Linked DNA regions of Homo sapiens: region 2 is linked to region 1. Evidence: promoter capture Hi-C in human tissues and cell types (Jung and others, 2019). All regions are on one chromosome and are shown on one strand. Each heading gives the region's core, a stretch centred on a gene start or on the middle of the fragment in contact. The rest is flanking DNA. Distances are from core to core; before and after follow the strand shown.

Region 1 (3,501 bases), core at 678-3,177:
AGTCAGGAGCTCAAGACCACCTTGGCCAAGATGGTGAAATCCCGTCTCTACTAAAAATACAAAAAAAATTAGCCAGGCGTGGTGGTGGGCGACTGTAATCCCAGCTACTCAGGAGGCTGAAGCAGAGAATTCCTTGAACCTGGGAGGCAGAGGTTGCAGTGAGCCGGGATCATGCCACTGCATCCCAGTCTGGGTGACAAAGCCAGACTCTGTCTCAAAGAAAAAAATAAAACAACTGAATTTTCCTTCTTGCAAAAAGGGAAAAAGACCTTTACTCCTCTCTTTTCTTACAGCATTTCCTTAAGAAAACTTGTAATTGTAAATCCCTTCTCTGTCCCTGTGAGATATAGCAAAACTTTTTAAAAAGTAAATAAGCTTCTTGCTAGTTTAACAACCCAGGAAGGTCTTTCTTAATGGCCTTGGGTCATGTCTTTGAAATGTAAGCATCAAGGAAGATTGCACCCCATCTCCCTGCCTCTGTGGTAAACTCCTAGGCTCCTGGCTACCCGCGGTTAACTACCTGCGTGTCATAGAGATACCAGAAACTTTACTTTTCATTTGCATAATGGCAATTAACTAACACTGATGGCTACCCTAATTATCAGGTGAATTTCAGATGAATTATGCATAGCAAATGTTGCTGTACAGTCATCTTACTTGAGGACAAGTTATTTTTACCTTGAGGAAATAGAATGCGTTGTACCAGACCGGCTAATACAAAAAATGATAGTTCTTCCTGTCTTCATAAACTCATTAGTGGGTTGCCTGTGACGCACATCGCAGTCTGGTTTAATGTTTATTCAATAATGTAACTGTTTTGTTCTTTTCTCCATCTGTGGAGAGAATTTTCTGGGTTGGCAAGAGGCTTTATTTTAAATTATTTCCTCAATACTTCCCATCCAGAAAGGTGGTGTGTGTGTGTGTATTATGTGCGCATATTTTTATATGTATATATATGTGTGTTTATACACATGACAATATATACGTTTTTTTCTAGATGATTCTACATGTTTTAATGTAATAAAGTTATTGACCAGGAAATATATAATTTGTTTTACATATACAGCCAAGTCCTCTCTCTGTATCCGCGGGGGATTAGTACCAGGACCTCCCTGGATTACTCAAATCCAGGGATGTTCAAGTCTCTGGTAGAAAATAACCTGATATTTGCATAACCTACACACCTCCTCCTGTATATTTTAAATTATGTCTAGATTAATTGTACACCTAACACAATGTAAATACTATGTAAATAGTTTTATTGTATTGTTTAGGGTATAATGACAAGGGGGAAACTTTGTACATGTTCAGTAAGATAGAATTTTTAAGTATTTTCATTCTGAGCTTAGTTGAATCCATAGATATGCACCCCCAGGATAAGGAGGGATGACTATATATATTCCTTAGTGAAATGATAGTCATGATACTCTATACCATTAGGTTAAAATTTGTGTAAATTCATGAGAAGGATGTTCACCTAACATTAAGCGCTTTTGCTTTTGGGAAGTGGTATACTCGTTTTCTGTTTTAGCTTATACATATTTTGTAGTTTATTACGTTTCGCGTACCGTTTGCACAATTGTGAAAGCTAGCATTCCTAAGAGGAAGCGGTTACAGGGCATTATCCTTCATTACTCCACGTACTCCTGTACCCACGGAGTTCAATCACTTTAACAAAACTGCCCATCAGTGTTCCTTGGAGCACCTCACGGTGGATTTCTGTCTTCAAGCCCAGACGTGCAGGGTGCAGCTCTCCGGCCATCACTGAGCAAGGACAGCGCCCTCTCCCGGAAACCCGACAGCAATCACTCAGGCCGCTGGAGGCGGCCGCGCCTCACGACGTCATCCAAGATGGAGTCGCAGCCGGGCCTTCTGGGAAGCGTAGTTCTGGAGTAGGGCTAGGGAAACGTTCTGCGCATGTGCAGTGTCTTCTTTCTGGCATTGGCGTTTTTTTGGTCTTACGCCCTAGGGTGGGGAGAGGACTCCGGTGCCTCCGGGTCTGGGCTGGGCCGCAAAGGGCGGGGCCTGGGCCCGGCGCGGGCCGGGAGCAGAGGCCGAGACCCTGCAGGTGTGTCGAAGGCTTTTGCGGGCGGGCAGGGCCTGGGAGGCGGGGTCTCGAGCCTGGAAGCCGCCTCCTGGCCCCGGAGCGGCCTCCGCGGAGGGCCCTGGGTGGGAGCCGCCTGGTGGGGAGGTTGGCTGGCTGCGCTGGCGCCCCTGCCCGGAATGGCGTTTGCGCGACCTGCTTGAGGGGCGGCCAGAGGAGGCCTGCGGTGCTGGGCAGTGGGCGCCCGGAGCAGCCGCATTGTGTGACGTGACCGGAGCCGCCATGTGAGGCGCGCTGGCCGCTGCAGACGCGGCGCTCCAAAGCCGCAGGGACGTGGGCTCTGGTCCAGCGTCTGTAGGTGGTCCCAGTGCGGCTCGACGCGCATCTGGCAAATGATGGGGGCCTTTGGGTACTGAATAGGGTAATAGATGTAAAGTATGATACAGGACTCAATAAAGGTGAGCTGCTTCTATTATTACAAAACATGCTGTTTTCATTATTGGCTCATTTAATCATCGTAACCATCCTTTCGACTTAACCATCTCTATTAAAATAAATGTGACTATTAAAGATTCAGAGAGAGAAATCCGTTTACCCACAGTATTAGCAGGTGGGATGTAAATCCTCACTTTTTCCTCTGAGTTAATGCGCCTTGCCACACTAAAATCCAGTCTTGACTTGTATTTAGCACAGCATTTGCCCCTTGAGCACCACCAGAACGTAGCTGTGTGGTGTACTTGAACCCAGTCTCAACCAGGTAGTGTTCTGTTTCCAAAAATGCTTGGGGAATCTTCAGAGCACTTGAGTCAAAAGGTGAATTATTTAAGGCCTTCCTGCATCCTCCAACCTTAGTCTCTTCTCAGAGGACTGTGAAACGTGTAAATTGAAACCACAATTTGAGCCCTCAATTTTGCATTTTACAGGAGAAGCTGGGAATCCCATCCAGCCCAGAGGCTAGTTTCTAAAGACAGGAAATGGGACAAAAAATTTTTTTAAAGATGAAAACTGCAGTTCATCAGTTCCTCCATTTTATGGTGGTGATCTTATAATGCCTCTCATTGGCTGATAACTGAGCTTAGGCATTTCGTAAGCACCATGCTAGCTGGAAGTGGTTTTTGCTGCTTATTTTAGTTTTTTTTTTTGGTACATAATGTACATATTTGTGGGGTACATGTGATATTTTGATATATGCATACAATGTGTCATGATCAAATCGGGGTAATTACAATATCCACCGCCTCATTTATCATTTCTTTGTGTTGCAAATATTCGAAATCTTCTAGCTATTCTGATAGCTAATAAATTATTGCTAACACTTGTAACCATACTGTGCTATTGAACACTAGGACTTAATCCTTCTACCTAACTGTATTTTTGTACCCATTAACCAACCTCTCTTCATTCCTCACTCCCTACTTCCCTTCGCAGCCTCTGGTAACCATCATTCTACATCGTAT
Region 2 (3,501 bases), core at 504-3,003, 400 kb before region 1:
ACATTCTTCTCAGCACCACACAGCACTTATTCCAAAATTGACCACATAGTTGGAAGTAAAGCATTCCTCAGCAAATGTGGAAGAACAGAAATTATAACAAACTGTCTCTCAGACCACAGTGCAATCAAACTAGAACTCAGGATTAAGAAACTCACTCAAAACCACTCAACTACATGGAAACTGAACAACCTGCTCCTGAATGACTACGAGGTACATAACGAAATGAAGGCAGATATAAAGATGTTCTTTGAAACCAATGAGAACAAAGACACAACACACCAGAATCTCTGGGACACATTTAAAGCAGTGTGTAGAGCGAAATTTATAGCACTAAAAGCCCACAAGAGAAAGCAGGAAAGATCTAAAATTGACACTCTAACATCACAATTAAAAGAACTAGAGAAGCAAAAGCAAACACATTCAAAAGCTAGCAGAAGGCAAGAAATAACTAAGATCAGAGCAGAACTGAAGGAGATAGAGACACAAAAAAACCCTTCAAAAAATCAATGAATCCAGGAGCTGGTTTTTTGAAAAGATCAACAAAATTGACAGACTGCTAGCAAGACTAATAAAGAAGAAGAGAGAGAAGAATCAAATAGACGCAATAAAAAATGATAAAAGGGATATCACCACCGATCCCATCTGAGAATACTATAAACACCTCTACGCAAATAAACTAGAAAATCTAGAAGAAATGGATAAATTCCTGGACACTTACACCCTCCCAAGACTAAACCAGGAAGGGGTCAAATCCCTGAATAGACCAATAACAGGATCTGAAATTGAGGCAATAATAGCCTACCAACCAAAAAAAGCCCAGGACCAGACAGATTCACAGCCGAATTCTACCAGAGGTACAAGGAGGAGCTGGTACCATTCCTTCTGAAACTATTCCAATCAATAGAAAAAGAGGGAATCCTTCCTAACTCATTTTATGAGGCCAGCATCATCCTGATACCAAAGCCTGACAGAGACACAACAAAAAAAGAGAATTTTAGACCAATATCGCTGACGAACACTGATGCAAAAATCCTCAATAAAATACTGGCAAACCGAATCCAGCAGCACATCAAAAAGCTTATCCACCATGATCAAGTGAGCTTCATCCCTGGGATGCAAGGCTGATTCAACATACGCAAATCAATAAACGTAATCCAGCATATAAACAGAACCAAAGACAAAAACCACAAGATTATCTCAATAGATGCAGAAAAGGCCTTTGACAAAATTCAACAGCACTTCGTGTTAAAAATTCTCAATAAATTAGGTATTGATCGGACATATCTCAAAATAATAAGAGCTATTTATGACAAACTCACAGCCAATATCATATTGAATGGGCAAAAACTAGAAGCATTCCCTTTGAAAACTGGCACAAGACAGGGACGCCCTCTCTCTCCACTTCTATTCAACATAGTGTTGGAAGTTCTGGCCAGGGCAATCAGGCAGGAGAAAGAATGAAAGGGTATTCAATTAGGAAAAGGGGAGGTCAAATTGTCCCTGTTTGCAAATTACATGATTGTATATTTAGAAAACCCCATTGTCTCAGCCCAAAATCTCCTTAAGCTGATAAGCAACTTCAGCAAAGTCTCAGGATACAAAATCAATGTGCAAAAATCACGAGCATTCTTATACACCAATAGGAGACAAACAGAGAGCCAAATCATGAGTGAACTCCCATTCACAATTGCTTCAAAGAGAATAAAATATCTAGGAATTCAACTTACAAGAGATGTGAAGGACCTCGTCAAGGAGAACTACAAACCACTGCTCAATGAAATAAAAGAGGACACAAACAAATGGAAGAACATTCCATGCTCATGGATAGGAAGAATTAATATCATGAAAATGGCCATACTGGCCAAGGTAATGTATAGATTCAATGCCATCCCCATCAAGCTGCCAATGACTGTCTTCACAGAATTGGAAAAAACTACTTTCAAGTTCATATGGAGCCAAAAAAGGGCCCGCATTGCCAAGACAATCCTAAGCCAAAAGAACAAAGCTGGAGGCATCACGCTACCTGACTTCAAACTATACTACAAGGCTACAGTAACCAAAACAGCATGGTACTGGTACCAAAACAGAGATATAGACCAATGGAACAGAACACAGCCCTCAGAAATAATGCCGCATATCTACAACCATCTGATCTTTGACAAACCTGACATAAACAAGAAATGGGGAAAGGATTCCCTATTTAATAAATGGTGCTGGGAAAACTGGCTAGCCATATGTAGAAAGCTGAAACTCGATCCCTTCCTTACACCTTATACAAAAATTAATTTGAGATGGATTAAATACTTAAATGTTAGACCTAAAACCATAAAAACCCTAGAAGAAAACCTAGGCAATACCATTCAGGACATAGGCATGGGCAAGGACTTCATGTCTAAAACACCAAAAGCAATGGCAACAAAAGCCAAAATTGACAAATGGGATCTAATTAAACTAAAGAGCTTCTGCAAAGCAAAAGAAACTACCATCAGAGGAAGGCAACCTACAGAATGGGAGAAAATTTTCACAATCTACCCATCTGACAAAGGGCTAATATCCAGAATCTACAATGAACTCAAATTTACAAGAAAAAAACAAACAACCCCATCAACAAGTGGGCAAAGGATATGAACAGACACTTCTCAGAAGAAGACATTTATGCAAGCAAAAGACACATGCAAAAATGCTCATCATCACTGGCCATCAGAGAAATGCAAATCAAAACCACAGTGAGATACCATCTCACACCAGTTAGAATGGCGATCATTAAAAAGTCAGGAAACAACAGGTGCTGGAGAGTATGTGGAGAAATAGGAACACTTTTACACTGTTGGTGGGACTGTAAACTAGTTCAACCATTGTGGAAGACAGTGTGGCAATTCCTCAAGGATCTAGAACTAGAAATACCATTTGACCCAGCCATCCCATTATTGGATATATACCCAAAGGATTATAAATCATGCTGCTATAAAGACAGATGCACATGTATGTTTACTGCGGCACTATTCACAATAGCAAAGACTTGGAATCAACCCAAATGTCCATCAATGATAGACTGGATTAAGAAAATGTGGCACATATACCACATAGAATACTATGCAGCCATAAAAAAGGATGAGTTCATATCCTTTGTAGGGACATGGATGAAGCTGGAAACCATCATTCTCAGCAAACTATCACAAGGACAAAAAACCAAATACCGCATGTTCTCACTCATAGGTGGGAACTGAACAATGAGAACACATGGACACAGGAAGGGGAACCTCACACACTGGGGCCTGTTGTGGGGTGGGTGTAGTGGGGAGGGATAGCATTAGGAGATATACCTAATGTAAATGATGAGTTATTGGGTGCAGCACACCAACATGGCACATGTATACATATGTAACAAACCTGCACGTTGTGCACATGTACTCTAGAACTTGAAGTATAATAATAATTTAAAATAAAAGAAAGAAAGTAACATTTATCTTCAATCAAGTTAGAGTTTTTCCATAATGGAAC

Evidence for each region. Contacts are between HindIII fragments. The study calls those that stand out against the background at their distance.
Region 2: a fragment that was not itself captured here is called in contact with the fragment with the promoter of ZNF25 in region 1 in 1 of the 25 tissues and cell types used here (lymphoblastoid cells).

The regions. Positions count from the first base shown.
Region 1 is chr10:37,975,073-37,978,573 of GRCh38, reverse strand. It overlaps ZNF25 (zinc finger protein 25), which reads left to right and starts at 1,927. Exons shown (of 6, transcript NM_145011.4): 1 at 1,927-2,068. It overlaps ZNF25-DT (ZNF25 divergent transcript), which reads right to left and starts at 1,819. Exons shown (of 6, transcript XR_930830.4): 1 at 1,569-1,819. RefSeq lists enhancers at 1,684-1,913, 2,954-3,043 and a silencer at 1,954-2,363. The HindIII fragment of the contact is 22,972 bases long and covers 1-3,501 here.
Region 2 is chr10:38,372,597-38,376,097 of GRCh38, reverse strand. It overlaps the pseudogene HSD17B7P2. Among named protein-coding and RNA genes, the nearest start is that of LINC00999, 54 kb to the left of the region's middle. The HindIII fragment of the contact is 6,075 bases long and covers 1-3,501 here.